Regions from separate parts of the Homo sapiens genome. Here region 1 is linked to region 2. Evidence: promoter capture Hi-C in human tissues and cell types (Jung and others, 2019). All regions are on one chromosome and are shown on one strand. Each heading gives the region's core, a stretch centred on a gene start or on the middle of the fragment in contact. The rest is flanking DNA. Distances are from core to core; before and after follow the strand shown.

What was found. The method cuts DNA at HindIII sites, captures the fragments that hold promoters and counts their contacts. A contact is called where the count stands out against the background at its distance.
Region 1: a fragment that was not itself captured here is called in contact with the fragment with the promoter of BTNL9 in region 2 in 1 of the 25 tissues and cell types used here (spleen).

Annotation. Positions count from the first base shown.
Region 1 is chr5:180,846,382-180,851,677 of GRCh38, reverse strand. ZFP62 (ZFP62 zinc finger protein) reads left to right here. Exons shown (of 2, transcript NM_001172638.2): 2 at 185-4,067. The coding sequence ends at 2,886. Among named protein-coding and RNA genes, the nearest start is that of ZFP62, 12 kb to the left of the region's middle. The HindIII fragment of the contact is 7,289 bases long and covers 387-5,296 here.
Region 2 is chr5:181,036,203-181,041,516 of GRCh38, reverse strand. It overlaps BTNL9 (butyrophilin like 9), which reads right to left and starts at 1,251. Exons shown (of 11, transcript NM_152547.5): 1 at 1,085-1,251. RefSeq lists an enhancer at 3,808-4,734 and a silencer at 4,979-5,314. The HindIII fragment of the contact is 13,573 bases long and covers 1-3,056 here.

The DNA.
Region 1 (5,296 bases), core at 2,782-5,281, 190 kb after region 2:
AAATTTTGTCATATTCATTGTTGTATCCCTAGTACTTAAAAACCGGTACATGGCACATGGTACCTGTCACACAGTATGTTGTCAGTAAATGTTTGTCAAGTGAATGTTGTTCATTGTTATTCCAGTTTGTTTTTGTTTTTTTTTAAGAGAGTGAATAGGTGTCCTTTTCATTTTCTTGGTTTAGTGTCACATTTGAAGACGAGCACTGAGGATGAGGAACCAACTGAAGAATATGAAAATGTTGGAAATGCAGCATCTAAGTGGCCAAAAGTGGAGGATCCTATGCCTGAATCTAAGGTTGGTGACACATGTGTTTGGGATAGCAAGGTAGAGAATCAACAGAAAAAGCCTGTGGAAAACAGGATGAAGGAGGACAAAAGCAGCATCAGGGAAGCAATCAGCAAAGCCAAGAGTACAGCAAATATAAAGACAGAACAGGAAGGTGAGGCATCTGAGAAGAGCTTGCATCTGAGCCCACAGCATATCACACACCAGACTATGCCTATAGGACAGAGAGGCAGTGAGCAAGGCAAACGTGTGGAGAACATTAATGGAACCTCCTACCCTAGTCTACAGCAGAAAACCAATGCTGTTAAGAAATTACATAAATGTGATGAATGTGGGAAATCCTTCAAATATAATTCCCGCCTTGTTCAACATAAAATTATGCACACTGGGGAAAAGCGCTATGAATGTGATGACTGTGGAGGGACTTTCCGGAGCAGCTCGAGCCTTCGGGTCCACAAACGGATCCACACTGGGGAGAAGCCGTACAAGTGTGAGGAATGTGGGAAAGCCTACATGTCCTACTCCAGCCTTATAAACCACAAAAGCACCCATTCTGGGGAGAAGAACTGTAAATGTGATGAATGTGGAAAATCCTTCAATTATAGCTCTGTTCTGGACCAGCATAAAAGGATCCACACTGGGGAGAAGCCCTATGAATGTGGTGAGTGTGGGAAGGCCTTCAGGAACAGCTCTGGGCTCAGAGTCCACAAAAGGATCCACACGGGGGAGAAGCCCTATGAATGCGACATCTGTGGGAAAACCTTCAGTAACAGCTCTGGCCTTAGGGTCCATAAAAGGATCCACACAGGTGAGAAACCTTACGAATGTGATGAGTGTGGGAAGGCCTTCATTACTTGTAGAACACTTCTCAACCATAAAAGCATCCACTTTGGAGATAAACCCTATAAATGTGATGAGTGTGAGAAATCTTTTAATTATAGCTCTCTTCTCATTCAGCATAAAGTCATCCACACTGGAGAGAAACCTTATGAATGTGATGAATGTGGGAAGGCTTTCAGGAACAGCTCAGGCCTCATAGTGCATAAAAGGATCCACACAGGAGAGAAACCTTACAAGTGTGATGTCTGTGGCAAAGCATTCAGCTATAGCTCAGGCCTCGCAGTCCATAAAAGCATTCACCCTGGGAAGAAAGCCCATGAATGTAAGGAGTGTGGGAAATCCTTTAGTTATAACTCACTACTTCTTCAACACAGAACTATTCATACCGGAGAGAGACCTTATGTATGTGATGTGTGTGGGAAAACGTTCAGAAACAATGCAGGCCTCAAAGTCCACAGGAGGCTCCATACTGGGGAAAAACCATATAAGTGTGATGTGTGTGGGAAAGCCTATATCTCACGCTCTAGCCTTAAAAATCACAAAGGAATCCACCTTGGGGAGAAGCCCTATAAATGTAGCTATTGTGAGAAATCCTTCAACTACAGCTCTGCCCTTGAACAGCATAAAAGGATTCATACCAGGGAAAAACCCTTTGGGTGTGATGAGTGTGGTAAAGCTTTCAGAAATAATTCTGGCCTTAAAGTACATAAACGAATCCACACTGGGGAACGACCTTACAAATGTGAAGAATGTGGGAAAGCATACATCTCTCTCTCGAGCCTTATAAATCATAAAAGTGTACACCCTGGGGAGAAGCCCTTTAAGTGTGACGAGTGTGAGAAGGCCTTCATCACATACCGAACCCTTACAAACCACAAAAAAGTTCATCTTGGGGAGAAGCCCTACAAATGTGATGTGTGTGAGAAATCTTTTAATTACACATCGCTCCTTTCTCAGCACAGAAGGGTCCACACTAGAGAGAAACCCTATGAATGTGACAGGTGTGAGAAGGTCTTCAGAAACAACTCAAGCCTTAAAGTTCATAAAAGAATCCATACTGGGGAGAGGCCCTATGAATGTGATGTGTGTGGAAAAGCCTACATCTCACACTCAAGCCTTATTAACCATAAGAGTACCCACCCTGGCAGGACACCCCATACATGTGATGAATGTGGAAAAGCTTTTTTCTCAAGCAGAACTCTTATAAGCCATAAAAGAGTCCATCTTGGGGAGAAACCCTTCAAGTGTGTTGAGTGTGGGAAATCTTTCAGTTACAGCTCTCTCCTTTCTCAGCACAAGAGGATCCACACAGGGGAGAAACCCTATGTGTGTGATAGGTGTGGGAAGGCCTTCAGGAACAGCTCAGGCCTCACAGTGCATAAAAGGATCCACACAGGTGAGAAACCCTATGAATGTGATGAGTGTGGGAAGGCATACATCTCACACTCAAGTCTTATCAATCATAAAAGTGTCCACCAGGGGAAGCAGCCCTATAATTGTGAGTGTGGGAAATCCTTCAATTATAGATCAGTCCTTGACCAGCACAAAAGGATCCACACTGGAAAGAAGCCATACCGATGTAATGAGTGTGGTAAGGCTTTTAATATCAGATCAAATCTCACCAAGCATAAAAGAACCCATACTGGAGAGGAATCTTTAAATGTGATATATGTGGGAAGTTATAGTGGCACATCCCAGAAGAGAACCTATGAGGGAGGGAATGCCCTGGATGGGGGCAGGATGAGGATGCCTCTGTAGCAGGCAGAGCTTACCAAGTCTCTCCGAACTCAAATGGAAGAAATACCTTATGAATGTAAGAATGTAGGGGGTCATGGCTTGTAATTTACACAGTGTAAATGAAACCATCCTAGAGGATTATGAGGAATCCTTTCTATGTGATTTTCAATCATAGCAAGCAAGAAAGGCTCCAGTGTCAAGGTAGTTCAGCTCTTACAGGATATAAAACAGTCCATACTTGAGAGAAAAACTTAGATCTGAGTGATGGAATGTGAAGCAAATCTTCAAAATCAGTAGACATTTCTGGACATAAAACACAGATGAGGAAAGGGCTTCAATTAGAAGTTACGTAATCACCATCAGAAAGTTCATGTTTGGTAAATTCTGTTACTAGAAATGTAGGAAATTCAGGTATAGCTTTGAATCCCAATTACACATTGGTCAGTGGGAAAACTAAGGGCCTCCAACAGGCAAATTCAGGGAGGATAGGTTTCAGGGAATATAAATTTATTTAATATTAGTGGTCTTTAAGTATAAACTTGATGTAATTGGTTTGGGAGGGGGCAGTGATGATGACTTCTGAAACAAAATTTGGATTTCCTTTTAGGAAAAGTAGAAAGCATAGACTTACAAGTCTAACAGGAGATAGGAGAGAGTCACTCATAAAAAATGCAAATTGATGAACGTACTATTGTGATACATTAGTTGAATGGATGAAACTTTTTTAAAGTTTCAGATGAACTCCCATAATGAATGATGAATTTGTGATGAGGGATAACCTGGAAGTGGTATTCACACATTATGCTACAATAAAAGGTTCTACCGTGGAGAGGATTTTGACACATTCAGTAACTAATGGAACACACCGTCAACATGAATTCGCACCTTACATGACAGAAGTGATTCAGGGATTCCTATGAATAGAAATGCTGAGAAGGAACGCATTTTATTGCAGAAGCTAAAAAGCTAAAGTACCAGTCATCTAGAGAGAAGGAAATTAATGTTTCTTAATAATCCTGTTAAATGTTTGATTGTTTTTGGAATGTGTTATTGTAAAGATGTCATGCAGGACATGTATATGTTGTCTGTTGTAAAATGTTAACGAATACTTTGTTCAGGGCTCACTCTCTCTTTGTCATGAAAGCCAGCTCCTTGTGGCGAGGTAAAGTGGAATTCCAATAAAGAAATTCCTTAAATCAAAACGGGCTGTGAGTTTAGATGGAGGATACCCAAGAGCCATTTGTGTGCCAGATCTTTGTTGGGTAAGTTATACCAGATCCAAACCAGAGAGGGTAGTAGACTCATCCCACAGGGCTAGCAGCTCAGCTGGTTTCACCAGAAGTTAGAAGGTGCCTCCCTAGGAGGAGCACAGGATAGATTTTGAGGGGACCACAGTGGAGCCATGTGATCGTCGTTACTGGGCCAGATCCTAACTCGGGAGCAGGTAGGTTGTGTGAGTGATCAGTCACCACACACAGCTCTGTCAGGAACATGTAGAATTGAACATAAACTACTGCTGTGTATGAAGCTGTTAACTAGGTAACTCAAAGGGTAAAAATAGACTCTTCTGAGAATTGAGTAACCTGTCTGAGAATACTGTGAGTGGGCCAATCAGCAAAGGCTGAATTTGAAGTCTGGTATCTGGTTTCAAAACCCATTGTCTTTACAAGAGAACAATCTCAGCCATGTAGTTTCCCATCTCCTTCTGGGACTCCTATCTCTGTAGCCAGATAGTTTCCATGCTCTTTCTAGGAGTATATTTGTTTCACTTTGTATCCAAACCCCTACCAGTAAGTTTTGATGGCTGCGGTGGGGAAGGGTGGAGTTGAGGGAGGAAAGGGAGATGGAGCATTTCTACCACTGCTCCACTTGGACTGTTCTGATCATACTTGCTCTCTATCCTCCTTTGCACATGACACTGGCAAGCCTGACCCTATACACAGACTTGGACTGATTTATTCAGCAAATACTTGAGGATCTACTAGGCACTGTCCCTGTCCCAGGTACTGGGTGGGAGAGGATGGCAGCAGGAGTAGATTCTGGTAGATGAGGATGAATAAAGGGAGAAAGGCTGTGAGCACAACCACCCTAATGGATGAATTAAGACTGCAGGTGCTCAGAGGACAGCGACTAGGACCAACCAAGAGGGAGGAATTGGTGACATCTGGGCAGGACGTTGAATTGGGTTTTCTGAGAGGAGTAGGAACTAGGATGACCTGAGTAAAGGCAGCTACGGAAGTGCCCAGGCATCCTCCAGCAAGGCTGGTCTCTGGCAGGGCTGATGTGTGGGCAGGAAGGAGGGTGCCATGGAGTACTCGTTCCCCGTAGTCGTGGGGACATGGATTGGGCTTCTTTTTGCTGAAGATGAGACCAGCTTTGGTTGTTTTTAACCTGAGGTTTCCATGTGCTCCTCACACAGGAGAGCTCCCGT
Region 2 (5,314 bases), core at 2-2,501:
CTTTCAGCAAAGCAAGAATGGAGAAAAAGAGGATTAGAAGGAACTTCAGTTGGTTCCCTGGTGAATAACTTAACAAAATAAAACCTGCTTTTCCATTTGTATTACACATTCACAATCTCTCACTCTTACTTACTCTATTGGTGAATTTCAGATTCTGTCCACACATATAATTATTTGCCTGAACTTAACACTATCTTCCTGACAAATAGTAAATCTCCCAAGGACATCTCCGAACCTGGCAGTGTCCACAGGCCACGTCCTCCCACAGGAGTCCCTCGCCTGCTATGCAGCTGTTGGCGTCCTGAGCGATCCCAGTGTTTCCATGGGGGCAGAGCAAAACCTTGGGGATTCTCTAACATAATTTTAAGACTACATTTCACACTTAAATGACCACGTTATGAAACCTGGCAGGAAAATCCATGTTATTAATAAATGCCATGTCTCTTGCTCTCCCAAACACAGGAAGTATTTTTTGCTCTGCATATGTCTGCGGAGACTGTGGGGTCCCAGAGTGGAAAACTTCTCTAGTAACAAAGTACAGAAATTATCCCTGAAGTATAGTCTTTGCTTTGCTACTTCTGTAAGCTGTGTAACTGGTGAATTTTGCCTGTCTCCTGTCCTCCACTCCCCAAGCTGCAAGTCCGCAGGTGTCAGTGGGGCCTTGGCCCTCTCCCACGGGCCTCCCCGACACCCCCTGCAATGCCCTTCCCCCCGGCAGACCCCAGCTAGTGCTCACTGCCTGCGCTGGTTTGATTTCGATAGGTCCACAAGAGGATTTCCACCCTCTTAGTCTCTAAGGAAGATGGACTGCCCCAAGAAGGGAACCGCAATGAGGCTTGAAATCTTTTTCGTCTGGTGGGGGCAATGGGATGTATCAGGATCCTGCCTCCTGAGATGCGGCCCACCTAAACGGGCGTGGACATCTCCTCTTGGCCACACTCGAAACATCCCATGCTGCGGCCAAGCTCGGATAATAAAATGGTGCCACTAATTGTACGCCTTCCCAAAGCCTCCCACCTTCATTTTCTGATTGCCGTTTCTGAAAGATGGAGGTGTAGGCAGCTGTTGAGAATGAGCCACTTACCTGGCAGGTAGCAGCAAAAGGTCTGAAATGGCAGATGAGTCCTGGTGAGCTCACCTCCTCTGCAAAGGGTGATGATTGCTGTAAAGTGTCTTGGTCCCAGATGCTAAGATTCCCTAGACGTGGACTGGCAGCTGAGCTCCAGAGGCCAGGGCACGTGTGACAGAATTATTTATCCATCTTCCACCCTAAGATATATGCCGTTTGCTCTGCCCTTGGCTATGGAAACCAAGATGGATAGAACAAAACAAGGAAGTCGTCACATCCTGTCTCTGAGAAAAATCTTGAATTCCCATGTAAAATATCTCTCCAGGGTCACAGAAGGAGGGGAAAGGTATCTGAGAGCTTTGTAGAGAGCGACAGCTGCAGAGGCTCAAAGTGAGGAGAAAACGCTCCAGCTGGGTTCAGGGTCTTTGTGCCAGTGAAGCTCGGACTCCAAGGAGGCAGGGTAGCAGTCCCCGAACAGTGAAAGAGAGTAGACTGCAGTCTCCACTAACTAACCACGAGGAAGGGGCTGATGACCAATTTTTAACCCACCATAACCTTCTCCTCAGGACAAGGTCAGTAAGGAACAAATCCTGGGGGCATTGTCGTGAGGCAACCTGCAAAACCTGTTCACGTGCAACTTAGAAATGCAGGAGGGTGCTGGATTGGGATTTCTCTAGTGGAGAAGAGGTCAGAAAAGAAGCAGCAAGCACTACCCCAGCCCAGCCCACCCCATCTTACTGTAGGCCATGGTGCAACTTGGGCATTAGCGGACTGAGGCACCAGCCACCCAGCTGCAGCCCACACTGACGTCCCCTCCAGGGAACAGGCCAGAGCTGAGGCACGAGCAGCTCAAGCACATGCAGTGTTGTGGGAAACTGAGGACCGGAGAGACCGATGTGAAGAACAGGAGGATTGTTTATTTTAGGTACACACCGGCTCAGTGGACTCACATCCAAAAAGCTGAGCATTAAACAAAGACAGAGCGGGGTTTTTGTAAGTGGACTTACAATAAATAAAACAAAAGCAGCTAATCATGATAGGTCACATAATCTATAGCATAGCATAACTTGTGGCCTTGCACAGCGGGTGACTTTGTAGCTGCATTGAAAGAAAAACAAGAACTGGCTAAGTACAGACATTTGTAAAACACAATCATGCTTAAGAAGCCTGGGAAAACAGTAACAGTAAAAGAATTTGTCTTTCTCTCTTTTTCCTTCAACCTTGCTCTGGAAGTGGGGCGGCGGGTATCTGGAGCCCATTCCTTTGGCCTTGGCTTTCTGGACACTGTTATAACTGTCCTTGCAGTGGGCTTGCTATAGGCAGAGGAAAACTTGTCCTTTACTTTTTAACCCTTGCCTTGCCTGTTACTTTTCTTGGAGTGAATGAAGGCATATGTATTTTTAAATTTTCTGCCTCAGTAGCACACCCCAGGGACTCCCAGAAGTGCCTGTGTTTGTAGAGGGGCCTCTGCAGGTGACAGGGCGCTACATGGGTGGGAGACGGGAGCCAGCAAGCTTCAGGCATGGACCTGGAGGTGACTGTCTGTGCTCAGACAGGCTGGTGAGACTGGGCACCCAGGCTTATTAATGTGAACAGATGTCCCTAGGACAGCAAAAGGGGCTGAACAGTGAGCTCAAACAGTGGGTGCAGTTCCCCGGGCCTGGGGAGACAGAGGAGGGCTCAAGGACAGGGTATACTTAAGATGGATGCTGCATAAACAGTAGGATCAGGGAAGCCATGGGCAGCCCGGGAGGACAGAGCCTGCGAGGACAGACATTCTTCGTGGAGGGAGGTGATTAGCATGTGGGAGGTAGGAAAAGGCTAGGGGTTAGCCAGACCAGTGTGTGGCTCACTAGTGGAAGGGAAGGTTGAACAGAAGTGGATGGGACCACATTGCAGAGGCCCTTGCATGCCACATAGGGAAGTGAAAGAGAAGGAAAATTGCACTTGTAGAGAGGGGCTGCTCGAAAACGAGAACATGGCCTAAACTTTTCATTGCCCTTAGGTTGGATTCCTCCATGCTGCCTGGGGAGAGGTGAGATTGTCACAGCAGAAATGCAAAGAGAGAGAGAAATGGGCAGAGTCCACTTCTGTGGCTCCTAGACACAGCCCTGGTGGGATGTGGGAGGGGGACCCCACCTGCCACCACCGCCTGCATATCAGGCGCATCATGCAGTAGGAAAGATGTAGACAGCGGCTGTCCCTGCCAGCCGAACCTCCCATTCCAAGACCCAGTAAATGCATAAAGGCTCAGATCCAAAATGAAGGTAGGTGCTGAACCCCTGGCGGACTATAGGTGCCACTGGAGAGAATGGACCCTCATCTGTCCTTGTGTGGGATTTTTGGGTGTCAATTTTCTTCCCAGAAACCTCTGTGGCACCTGAGTTCTTGTCCTGCCTCCAGGAAGAATGAGGTCATGAGGTACACAGACAAGTGAAGGGTGAAGAAGATGCAGAGAAGCTTTATTGAATGCTAGAACAGCTCAGAGGTGATCTGCAGTGAGCTCCTCTCTGTAGGTAAGTCCTCCCCTCCCACTGAGTGTTCAGCTCTCAGCAGAGAAGGCCCTTGAGAGGGTAGCTCCTCTCTGCCCACTGGTCCTCCTGCCACCTGCTGCTCTCAGCAGACAGAAGTCCCTGGAGAGAGTGGCTCCTCTCCACAGGCAAGTTGTTCTGAACACCTCTGCAGGTCTCTGAAGCTCTCAGCAGAGAGGGTAGCTCCTCTCTGCAGCTGGCCATCCCATCGTTTCTCCATCCTCTGCCCTGCTCTGGCTGAGCCTCAGGCTTTTATGCACCTCAGAGGGGAGGAAGTGCATGCTGATTGGTCCATGGGCAGCCAGAGGGAGACACCACAAGTCCCCACTCCAGTCAGAGGGACTGGCAGCCAGGCCTTCAGGCCCTCCCTGGCCTGAAGGCGGGGCCTTACTGGGGACCCGCCTTCTCCCTCCAGGGACTCTGTCTGCCTCCCACTGCCATTTATGGTCCCTGGCTAGGCCCCAACCCCGCTCTGAGAGTGGGAGCAGAGAGAGGCCAGGCAGTGGGAAGCAGACAGCCCTGAGCCTGCAGGGATGGGGGTTGGGGGGCTGGGTACAGGGTGGTTCTTCCCAGGCCCTGGAGGTGCAGAATGCACAGATGCCGGGGTCCTGCTCCTGGGAGGGTGGCCGAAGCTGCACCCGGGGAGCTCCTGCCCCATCAATTCGGAAGGGGCAGGGCTCCTGCTTGTCCTGGCTCCTGCCTCCTCCGTGGAGCAGGAGGCTGAGGTCTGCAGCTGTGGGTTGGGTGGCTGCAGCTGCACGCAGAAGGGCAGATCCTGCCTGCCCCTGGCTCCCACCCAGGAGCTCAGGGAGGCTTGGATCCACAGCTGCAGTTTGGGTGGCTGTAGACCCACACAGGAGGGTTGGGATCCTGCCTGATCTGTACAGCAGGAGGCCTGGGTCTGCAGTCACAGTTTGGGTGACTGCAGCGGTACCCGGGGAGCTCCCGCCCCATCTCAGAAGGGGCAGAGCTCTTACTGGCTCCGTGAAGTATGCAGCCCCAGCCAGGCCTCCCTGCTGCAGCCCCTGTGATGGCAGCGGCCATCACGTGGAGGGAGGTGATTGGCACGTGTGGGGTAGGAAAGGCTAGGGGCTAGCCAGGCCAGCATGGAGCCATCACTTGGACAGCGGAGAACATGCCCCATTATATAGCTTCCGTGGTGCACAGCAGCCCTCACCATGAGGTCGTCTGAGGGAATTCTGGAGGGGCTAATGGGAGAATCCTCATCCCCAGGGCAAAGGCTATTCTCACGCCCAGCGTGGGCTACCAGTGGAGATAGAAGCAAAGTCATGCCAGCCTCGCAAGTAGTGAATTCCTCCTTTTCTGACGATCCCCCATCCACCTTCCCCGGCAGCCCACAACATGGCCCTTGAGCTTCCTTACTGCATTTTCATTTTCTCCTGTTCCGTTCTCCAGGGAGCTCACACTGACATTCTTGTGCCTGTCAGCTGGCACAGTGCCCCCCATTGTGCTTTGTCACACAGATAGAGACGTGCACAGGCACTGGGAGATAGGAGAGGCCCACTGCTGCCCTCACAGCCACAGGTGCTCATCTTTGGCTCCTGAGATTGTGGGGGCTGCAGGAGCCACACACACCCTCTACTCCCAAACAGCCTGACCTCGCCAAGGCAAGCCATTTTCGAGGGTGACTTGAGTGGTGCTGCCCAAAGGGATCAGCACGGAGCATCCCTAGCTCGGAGGAATTCCTTCACTG